Regions from separate parts of the Homo sapiens genome. Here all the other regions are linked to region 2. Evidence: promoter capture Hi-C in human tissues and cell types (Jung and others, 2019). All regions are on one chromosome and are shown on one strand. Each heading gives the region's core, a stretch centred on a gene start or on the middle of the fragment in contact. The rest is flanking DNA. Distances are from core to core; before and after follow the strand shown. Region 1 overlaps KYNU (kynureninase). Region 2 holds the start of LRP1B (LDL receptor related protein 1B). Region 3 overlaps LRP1B (LDL receptor related protein 1B). Region 4 overlaps LRP1B (LDL receptor related protein 1B).

Evidence for each region. The method cuts DNA at HindIII sites, captures the fragments that hold promoters and counts their contacts. A contact is called where the count stands out against the background at its distance.
Region 1: a fragment that was not itself captured here is called in contact with the fragment with the promoter of LRP1B in region 2 in 1 of the 25 tissues and cell types used here (lymphoblastoid cells).
Region 3: a contact is called between a fragment that was not itself captured here and the fragment with the promoter of LRP1B in region 2, in 1 of the 25 tissues and cell types used here (hippocampus).
Region 4: a fragment that was not itself captured here is called in contact with the fragment with the promoter of LRP1B in region 2 in 1 of the 25 tissues and cell types used here (mesendoderm cells).

What each region holds. Positions count from the first base shown.
Region 1 is chr2:142,988,530-142,991,229 of GRCh38, forward strand. All of the region lies in intron 10 of KYNU (kynureninase), which reads left to right. Among named protein-coding and RNA genes, the nearest start is that of KYNU, 110 kb to the left of the region's middle. The HindIII fragment of the contact is 3,561 bases long and covers 1-2,700 here.
Region 2 is chr2:142,129,693-142,132,494 of GRCh38, forward strand. LRP1B (LDL receptor related protein 1B) reads right to left here and starts at 1,324. Exons shown (of 91, transcript NM_018557.3): 1 at 956-1,324. The coding sequence starts at 1,037. RefSeq lists an enhancer at 1,192-2,391. The HindIII fragment of the contact is 3,160 bases long and covers 244-2,802 here.
Region 3 is chr2:141,540,900-141,543,640 of GRCh38, forward strand. All of the region lies in intron 2 of LRP1B (LDL receptor related protein 1B), which reads right to left. Among named protein-coding and RNA genes, the nearest start is that of LRP1B, 590 kb to the right of the region's middle. The HindIII fragment of the contact is 4,219 bases long and covers 1-2,741 here.
Region 4 is chr2:141,565,392-141,568,091 of GRCh38, forward strand. The region is part of intron 2 of LRP1B (LDL receptor related protein 1B); the gene reads right to left. Among named protein-coding and RNA genes, the nearest start is that of LRP1B, 560 kb to the right of the region's middle. The HindIII fragment of the contact is 3,131 bases long and covers 1-2,700 here.

The DNA.
Region 1 (2,700 bases), core at 60-2,559, 860 kb after region 2:
TTGAATGAGATCTTTCATGGCTGTTTATTTTGTGTGTGTATGAGAACCTTGCTTTTAAGTTTTTTGGAAAATTATATGTTATTAGCTGTTGTTGCATTTTAACAATTTAGCCATGGAAATTTATGGGACTTAAATTAGGCTTGACTCATGAAGGCCACGTTAAGGAAAACCTTGGTTGTTTTTCTGTTTATTGTTTTCTCACACTCCTAAGCTTCTTTTTAAGTGATGTCAGTGACTGATCTCAGTGCTGTCAACTTCTAGCCTTGGCTCTCTATTCTGTACCAAGTATCTTATATTGTACTTCATTTGCATTAGGAGATCGGAGTTCTTTAATTAGGAATGGAATGCAACAGATTTGGACAAGTCAAGGACAAGGTATTTTCCAGTCATCACTTCATTGTCCCTGATAGGAAAAGAAATGTTTTGCTGAAACTTAACTTTGTGTCCCTTAGTGTGTTTTACTTTTTTATTCACCTGAAAATCAAATACCACCTGTGAGAAGAGTGATAAACAAAGAAAAGACCCAAAAGCCTACAATATCACGCTGCTCAAATAAGTGTAATTGTTCAGATGTTACGACAATGTTCCATACATAAAATATTGTGAAGATGGGGAGAGGAAGTTTTCTTGTGAATAATATTTATAGTTCCACGGTCAAATCCAATTTAAACTTTGAGTAAACTTTAGAGTCTGTATGACTACTGACTCTATTTGCCAATTAATAATTATATTTCAGTTGTTAGCATTCCACGATTAGCTGGTTTAACTATGTTTAATAAGCCTTCTGTCATCTTACTTTTCTGTTCTCTTAGAGCTTTAGAGAGACCAAAGAGTTTTTCACTGTTAAAGTGTCCAGTATGTAGCCGAGAACCATATGGAGAACATCAAATACAGTGGAACAAATGTAACTGCTATTGATGTCACACTTTGTGAAGTAGTCTTTGTTGCTTAAAAAGGGTGACATCTAGTGGCTAAACATGTTATTTCAAATAAATAATATCGAAATAACATTTCTTCTCATGGTCCACTCATTCACTCTTTAACAAGTATTTTGAAGTATATATGTTTGAATTATGTGTTCTTCTTTTTGACAATTTGACTATATGTTGATAGTGCAATAATTGTGCAGTTTAAGCCTTCAATAAAGAGGTAGAATGTGATGAAAATTGGAAGGAAACCTGAGGGGGCATTCTTAGTGCTTGGTTAAACAGAAAGCTTAACAGTTCATGAAGGCTGGTCTAAGAAAGGAATTATAAGCATGGGTGACCCACCTGGTGTAGAGAGTGTATCCCCAGATATATAACATTGCATTTTAGAAGTCTAATATTTGGTATATAATTTTTGAAATAGTCCTTTATGTGATGTTTCCATTAGCAAACAGCAAATTGCATCTGTACCAAGAGATTTCACTTCCTTTTTTGTTTAAATATGCATTTTGGACATTGTTCAAAACCTATGACCTAAGGCTTTTCCAAGAGCCCTTTGCCCATAAAGAGAATGAATAAATTAGAGGCCAGAGTCAACGCACGGCATTAAGCATCATAACTCAAGCTGTTATTCTCACCTAGAATTTAACCTTTTCCTAGTTCATTATTAACTTAGCTCATTGCAATGTCATATTCTAAACTCTGTCTGTACAATAAATTAGGACTGGTCATGACTTCTTGGATGTTTTTGCCCCACTTCAAGGTAGACTTTAATTCAGTCTACACAGTTAATTATTGCTCTGAAATATGAAGGGAACTACTCTTAATTGTACAAATTTGACAATATGAAATGTTTCACTAAAAACATGCTTAAATAACATTGTAAATTTTGAATGTTTTAAAAAAAGTTACAAATGTTAACCCTCATGGCACACTTTAGAGGACTATTTAACCTTTCAACTTTAGGGGATTCAAAGCTTTGTGAATCCTTTAAAAGGATTCTTCTGTAAGAGCCCATACATTGCGATTTAAGATACCACCTCCCTCTTTTTTTGTTAATAGAGAGTCTACTATGAAAACAGGAGTGGATAATATGAGGTATTACAAATCCATCTATCATTTACTTTTTTATGTGAGCCAGTGAAATCATACATACTGAAAACCTGCTGTTCCTCACTCTTCACGCTGGTGTAGCAAACCTCCACATGTGCCCATTGTATTAGATTCTCCTAAAATGCACATTTCCCTTGGGATACTTTTCTTCTGAGCTTTTTTGAATGGGCAAGAATGGGGCCGACTGACAATTTTGATAAAAATACTTGAATTTTAAATCATGCCAACACATTTCCATAATCAGCTAGAGGTATTTGATTGAAAGTTTTAAACAGTGATGACATTTTAAAGGCCTTATTAAGGGCTTGAATTATCTCCTTTATTGTAAAGAGTAATTTGCTGGTGAAAAAGAACCAGTTGAAAAGGCTGGCTGACTTCAGTGCATGGTTAAGAAATAAGAGTTGTTACTATTTGGCAACAACATTAGAAAAACAATATGCATCAAACAATTCCCAGGAAAGTCCCAGAAAGAATAAAAATAAACATCCAGAAATTTCAGCAAAAAGACTTAAAAAATTATAACTTTATACCATGCTTGTCCCAACTGTACAGTTAACATTGTATGAAGAGATCGTCTTTTGCACATTTGTTCAGGGGAACACTGACTTATATATTTCACTTCCATATGCTTTTCCAGGCAACAGTTGAGAATGCCATAGCC
Region 2 (2,802 bases), core at 74-2,573:
AATCTATGATACTTCTGATTTTACTTTAACCAGTTAACCATTCCAAGGCCAGGGCCAGTGCCCCAAATATTCATCTAGTATTTTCCTCCCTTTTTCACCAGTGCATCTGTTGTCAAAGATTATTAAACTCGCACAGGGATTCTTGATTTTCCAGATGAAAAGTTTATAGAATCCCGGCTTTTTCTAATTCCTACCTCCTTTCTCCTCTGCTCCCCATATCCATTCCCTTCTAAACTTCTACCATTCACCAGCTGCTTGGAGAAAAAGGAAAAGCAAAGCGCCAGACTGGAGAGAGGCACTCCAGGGGTGGGTTAGCCCCTCAGAGCACCTGGGCTGTGTCACAGACCCTCATAATCGAAAAGTCAATTTCAAGCAGGTGCGTGCGCCCGGAATCGTCCTAAAAGCCTCTCTGCTGATGACAGGACTCTGACCCCAGTCTGCCCCCAGGAAGGGGCTATAGAAACGAAAGGGGCCTGAATCGGCGCTTTCGCCGCTCCACGGACCTCGAATGCAGCAGGTAAGGAAGTTAACCTGGGAGCTAAGTTGAGGGCGGACACGCTTAACGCGGAGAACCTGGAGCTCGCAAAAGCTCGCAGTTGAGGGCCATCGCGGAGGGAAGTCTTTCGGAAATGCGAATTCTCATTCCAACATCTGCAGCGCTTAGAATTCGCGGACAGAAGCGCACAGCCAAGTGCACACACTCCCGGAGGGGACAAAATGGGGACCGGGAAACGGCCAAAGGGAAAAGCTGTGGGGGTGCCGAGGACTCAGGCACTTGGTTCAGAAATCCCGCACCGCACCTCTCACCCCCGCACAGGGCCAGCGCACGGTGGTCACCCGGTCCCGGGGAGCGGAGCTGCAAGGACTTAAGTTTCACACTCACTTATCTGCAAGCATCGCCCAGCAGGAAAGCCAAGGAAGTCAGGGGAGGGGAGCGGGGAGGTGTTCTCCTTACCTCGGTCGGCTCCCACGGTCAGCACCCTGGCAATCGGCAATAATCCCGAGAGAGTGAGTAAGGCGAGGAGAAACTCGGACATTGTGGTCGCCCGGTAAGGAAGCCTGCGCTGGAGACTGCTCGGCGGCACCTTCGGCCCGGCGGCGGCGGCGGCGGCAGGGGCCGCTTGGAGCCTGGAATCGAGCGGCGTCATTTACAAATGTCACTGGAAATTCTTCAGCTCAATGAGTCCAGCCAGTCAGCCTTCTCCTGCCTGGAGCAGGATGTGGAAGGTGGAGGGATGCGCGCGTGCGGGAGAGAGGAGGCAGAGCGTGTGTGAGCGCGAGCGAGACGCCCGTGTGTCTTGACTTTTCAATGCAGGGTACGTCTGATCTTACATCACGCAAGAGGGGCAGTGAGAGATGCCAGCGGATGGGAATTCACTGATTAATCACCGAATCCACCACACACCCCTTCGTCGTTCACATAAATCACATCTATTACTTAATAAGAGGCATTTAACACAACAGGAAAATACCACCGCGAACGGAGAGCGCCACAAATCACAATTATTTTAATCCCCTTGAAGGGAAAGTAACTCGAAGCTGGTTCTGTGGGGATTTGGGTCTTTGGAGAAGGGAGAGACTTCTGCATTGGCCTGAGCCAGCCAGGCGCCTACAATGCTCCGCAGTTCACAGCCAGCTGAGAACCCTCAGCCGAGCACAGGGCTGCTTCTGCAGGCAAAACAAAGCTTCTCCCTTCGTTCCTCGGAAGCTTCCTTCCCGGGAAGGAAGGACAAGCCAAGGAACAGAGCTTCTCTTAGGGAAATGGTTTCCTCGGCTCTACACAGAATCCCAGTACTTCCTGAATTGCACTTTTAACTTTTATGCTGAGCAGCACCTGGGGACAAAGAGGCAAAATTTAGTGACTCAGCAGAAACAGAAAGCAAAACAACCCCCAAAGTCATTAACCGTTGCGTAAGAAGGGAAGGTTAATGGAAAAGGCTATTGAGGTCCCCAGGCAGGGAACAATAAAGCAACGAATTGGCAGCGTTTTTCTCTGGGGTTCTGTCTTTAAAAGGGTACTTCGAGCCATTTTAAACAGGCTTTGAGGGTTTTGTTGTTTTTGTTTTGTGTTTTGTTTTGTTTTCCTTTTCCATATACTACAGGGGCGGTGTAAGAACTTTCCCGAGCCATCGGAGGCATCAACGGGAATCACTGGAATAATAATATTAGTAAAGTTGTTTTTATGACCACTTAAGTTTACAACATGATCATCCCAGTCCCTAAAATTTTAGTTTGCCATTACAAAGTGGCTACGGAATTAAAACTCAGAAATCTTAATAGTTGTAGACTTACTTTCTTCCTTGTAACATCAGGAATTCTCTTCTAAGAACAAGAGTTGAAAAGGTTTTATATTTAATATTTTGAAACTGGACATGAGTGGAGAGGAAAACTATGAGAAGGGAACAGAACTAAGGAAGAGAACGATTGAAAAGTGAAGGAAGATGCTTTAAAAGCTTTATTTACTTTGCTGTTTGAGACTTATAAGTGAATGCCAGCATTACTATCTACCTATTTATGAGAGTAAAATTATCCAGAAATATCTTTAGATGCTCCTTTGAAGCCATTAAAAACTGGACTAGATGAAAGAACACAGAGATGACTTTGCAGAACATTGTCAATAATCTGTGGATTTCACCTTTTTATTCTTACTCTGTGATTATAAATGTATTTTATGTCACTTTTTCCATGTTTTAAATTATAAAGTTTACTTTCCCTTGAAAATACAACCATTTTGTGTTTGAAATATGACTCCTACATTCAAAAGTGTATGCTTAATTTTTTTTTTTTTTTTTGAGACGGAGT
Region 3 (2,741 bases), core at 241-2,740, 590 kb before region 2:
AGTTCGCACAAATAAATATTAAAGAAAACCCTGTTGACAAAATGAAAATATATGCAAGACATACTATATAGCTGCTAAAAAATATAACATCAAAAAAACAACAACAACATCCAAAATAGCACTTTCATATTCCAAAAGATATCATTCAAGTTAAAATCTTCCCTCCAAACAAGGAGCTTTTTTATAACAAAACATGAATAACAAGTCTACTTACTCCTTAATTATTAAAAGAAAGTCAATAGGTTATGGAGGAATTATTAAAATTCAAACAATGTCAATTTCTTCAACAAACATTTCCAATAGAGGTTCCAGGTGTTTTACTGTATTTGAATACAGGCATAATCAAGAAAGTGGACTCTGCCATCCAGAAATTCATCTTTTGTTGAGACAGACATGAGATCAGATTTATGTTTTAGTTTTAAACATGCTTTGGAAGAATAAGACAGATGAAATTATTCTGCCTGTAGCTGTCAAGTAAGATGACATTTGAGCTAAGTCTTAAAAACAGTAATTTGGAAAGCTCTGTTTAATCTAAACTCTTCATATTCATAGTTAACTACCACCAAATCCAATGTCCAGCGTGTTCATGAAGTGTTTGTCGTTTGGTGAAAATATCATGTCAAATTTCATCTCTTTTGTCCCCTTTTGCTATGAACATTCACACATACAGATTGAGCACAATCCTTATAGCTCAATTTTAATTCTCAGTCCCATGTATTCAATAATACACATGTTGTGAGTGTTAGAATTCAAACAAGATCAAGTTGTTATTCTTTGCAATCTATAAACTAGAGTTAACTTGGAGTACGTCTCTGGCTAAAATAAATAAATGTAAACAATATTTTTAAAAAATGTAATCTAATAGAATACATAAATAGATACTTAGAAATGGTCAAATGTAAGTTCATTCTATTCTCCATTATTATTTTTTAATGTGTTTTAAAGCATTTCAAAGAAGTTCTCATGTGAGGAAAGCTAGAAATCTGTAAATTGCTAAATATATATTACATAATATCTGCTGTAGGAGGAAAAGTCTCTGGAAATTTTCTAGAAGTTATGGCAGGCATCATGGCAAATTTCTAATAGCTTTGCTTTTTTGGCATTGAGTCAACCCTAAAAGATTATTCCTGCAATATTTCACTTCAAATTATGTAATGTTCTATTCTTTTTGCGATAAACAAATATGAAATGATGGTGAATAAATCAGACAGAAAGCATATGATTTATGACTAGGTGAACCTTACACCTTTGCAGATTTGAACAATTGCAAGCTTTGCAGATTGAACAAGTTACTTAACATCTCTCCATCAGTATCTTTATATGTATAATAAATATACTAATACCAGCTTTCTAACTTTATTTTTAAGATTAAATAAAGTAATTTAACTAAAAGAATTAGGGCAGATTTTTGGCACATTATAAGCTTTCTATGATTTTTAATGTCAACATTCCCATCCTATTAAAATTCACATTTGGAAAGAATATTAAAGATATCTATTCAAATATTTTATTATATTTAACATGAGATTGTATGGCTAAAAATATGCAGCTTTACTTCTTCTCATATAATGTTTAAGCAAATTAATACCATGACTTCCTGAAATATTATATTTATCTTTATAGTAATGGATATCTACCATACTTCTGATATAGAAGGTTGTATGCTTTGATTTTTCATCTGAACTTTTTCCTAAATAAAAAGACATTACAAAAATTAGAGCCTCCAAGTATTGCAGGATAATGTGGAATATAATACTGTTAATCATGTAAAGGTCTGGTATTAAAACAGAATTAGCAGCAGATTAGGAAGAGGTAGAACATTTTCAAACTCTGCTCTCTTTGTCTCATTTTTAAGGTAGGCAAGTGTGGATGACCTTTTTTTCTATTCCTTCCTACTAATAGAGTTAGAATAGTTCTGTTAAACTAGCTTTAATTTCTTTTAGTGCCTATTTGCAGTCCTATTGAAAATAAGAACTTACATAGAAAAGGTTAAAAGTTACATATGGTATTCAGGTATTAAAAAAGATTAAGGTAGTTTTTTATGTACTGATAGCAGAAGATTCCCAAACTATCTCATTAAGTGAAAAGAGTAAGGTATAGAACAACGTGACAGTTTGCTACTATTTGAGTAAAAACTAAATATATTTATTATCCATATACCCTAAATATACCCGTGAATGATAGAAATCCATTACTATGAAGATAAGCAAATATAAGAACTTGGTAAAATTGGTTGTCTCTTGGAGAGGAATCTGTGTAGTCAGGAAGAATTTGCAGATAATCTTAGTTTCACTGCATACCCTCTTGAACATTTAAATATTATACAAGGCCAATCATGGTGGCCCAGGCCTGTAGTCCCAGCACATTGGGAGGCCAAGGCTGGAGATCATTTGAGCCCAGAAGTTTGAGGCCAACCTAGCCAACATCCTGAAACCCTGTCTCTACAAAAAATACAAAAAAAAAAAATTATTCAGGCATGACAGTATGCACCTGTAGTCCCAGCTTCTCAAGAGGCTGAGGCAGGGGGATTGCTTCAGCCCGGGAGGCTGAAGTTGAGGTTGCAGTGAGCTGAGGTTGTGTCACTGCACTCCAGCCTGGGTAAGAAAGCGACCCTGTCTCAAAAAAAAAAAAAAAAAAAAGTTACACCATATAATTTTCTTTCCTTAAAAACAAACACAAGCTGGGTATGGTTGCACACATCTGTAGTCCTAGCTACTGAAAAGGCTGAAGCAGGAGGATTG
Region 4 (2,700 bases), core at 161-2,660, 560 kb before region 2:
AACTTGACATTATAAGTGGAAAGGAGCAAAAAGATGATCAATCAAGGCTTTTAAGAGCTGCAGAGAAAGAGTCTGCAATACCTTTTTTCTTTATATCCAACATAAGCAAAATACAGCAGGTAATGATGTGGGATGCAATAAAGATTTTATTATCATTTTATTGGGATGAACATCCTATCTTACTCATATTTCTACCTATGTAGTTCATTTATCCCAAACTTTTAGTAGTAAAGTTAATGGCATTCCACACTTCCTAACATTCCTGCACTATTTTGTGCTTTACGCATACGCGTATATGAAATGGCAAAATATATCAGTTCAAGGATAAACAGAACCCAAGATTAAACTAAGTTACATAATGGTAAGTTAAGAGGTACACTGTTTGTATATTTAATCAGGAAATGAAATCTTAATCACTGTTGACTTTCATCTCACATCTTCTTGCTGTGCTTCTGGAAATACCAGTTTCTTAAGGTCAATCATAATTGAAAATATAACTAACATTATTGAGCACCATTTTTTTTTGCCAGGCACTCTGCCTGGCACTTTACATTTCTTTATTTTACCAAGTCATGAGCTGCTTTTCTTATTTTATAAGAGAGGTTGTAACTTGCCTAAAGGTGCAAGGAATGACCTTATATGGATTCAAATATAGGTATTTCTGGCTGCAAATCACCTTCCACTAATAATATGCCTGGCAGAAAATGTTATTAAAATACTTTAACAACTACTGTTCTTTGTCAACCCACTAAGCCACATTTCAGGAAAAAAAAAAAGAAAAAAGAACTAGCAAGGTGATCCCTCCAATATCCTCCTGAATCTGCAGAAACAACAACAAAAAAGGGCAGACTGGGAAATTAAAACTCTGCCAAAAACAAACCCAAGCTGTCAAAGAGAAGAAATAATTAAAGAAACGATGTAACTTTCACTTATAGTAAATGAAATTATATAAAATCAGACATGTTGAGAATTACGTAAAGTAGAAATAGTGACTTTATGCACAAAAACATAATTATGAGCATTCCCATAAAATTTAAAAATTAATAAGAATTGTATAATTTTCCATATGGAAGACAGAATGATGGTGAACTGTATATCTTCTATCAGTGTAACTGGCATGCAAATGTATCCACCATTCTTTATTGGTATTTGTTTTCCATTATGTGTGGTCTTCCAGTATGAGTAACTTCATGTGAAACGTGACTATCTAATAAATATAAAATCTCCAACCTCTCTTTGTTTTAATTTTCTCATCTAAGAAATGGAAATACCACATCCCCTTTCTCATTAAGTATTCTTACTGATTATAAATAAACTCCTGGATGGGTGCAATGTCATGCACCTGTTGTTCCAGTTACCCTGGAGGCTGAGATGGGAGGATCACTTGAGCCCAGGTGTTTGAGGCTGCAGTGAGGTATGATCATGCCACTGCACTCCAGCTTGGACAAGAGACTGAGACTCCCATCTCTTAAAAAAAATTAAAAATAAAACTAAAGTAAATTCCTAGAAATAAAGGCACTTTGAACAGAATTTGCTTAAAGAAATTGTATCATTGTTAATAATTATAGTTCACTAAGGGTTATCTTAATTTGCTTCAATCAACCTGGCCAGCAACAGCTAGCATTCTTACATAGGAAGATCATGAAAAAAGATTAGAAAATTAGAAAAAAGAGGAAATCATTTTAGTATAATTCAGTTATAATTCTATTGTGTTTGTTGTTATAAATAAAACTTTTTAAAAGGGCAAGTTTGATTGAACAAAACTCCCAAATTCCTTGACTATGCAATGGCATCAGATGTCTAAGGAAAGGAAACTTATAAGACCATGTTTCTAATTACTTTAGGATTCACAAATTGCGATCATTTTTTTTTCCTACTGAAGACAACATTATCCAAGAAGAATTGCAATAATTATATATAAAATTGTTAAGGAAAGAAAACATTTACCTAAAAATAACTACTTCATTCATAGGCTAAGGATTTTGTTATTTGTTTCAAAGAACAAAAACCAATAGATATGAAAATATTTGTTAGTAAATCATTTTCAGGACACCTAGTTGCCATATTTCTGTTTCCAATTCTTTTTACGTAGGTTTCCTAATGACATCTTAAAGCATTCAACCTATAATTTACATTAATTTTTAGATTTGACCAAGGAAAAGTATTTGCTGTGAAGTCATTGAGTTCTCCTAACTTTTACATGTTAAATAATAAGAAAAGATGAGAAATTAGGTGATGACTATTATATGTTAAAAGAGACTCTCTAAGTGTTTAGAATATGCTCTGAAATTACATTAGGTATGTGGGAAATCTGCTTATGAACTCTTTCATTATTTTACCTGGGAAACTAAACAGACCTTAAATCTGGACTACTAAAGATTCACCTTGATTAGAATTTCTTAGGGTTAAATGTGGAAGGGCCCCTAGGAAACCAATTTCCTAATACAGGCTTAGCCTGGATTTATATTGGAAACAGTAAAGAAGGCAGAACTTTGCCTCTCTTCTTCTGTTGTAGATTTTGCCAAAGGGAGCTATAGGGGAGCAAACGGTGATTGTCCAAATTTGTGCCTGATATTATTGGTTCAGTTGTTTATCACTGAATAGCTTCCATGTTATTCAGGCTTTCAACAAACATTTACTAAAAGCATAGAACTGTCCAGAGTCATGCTAAGCAATAAAGACAAATATTTAAGACTTGCT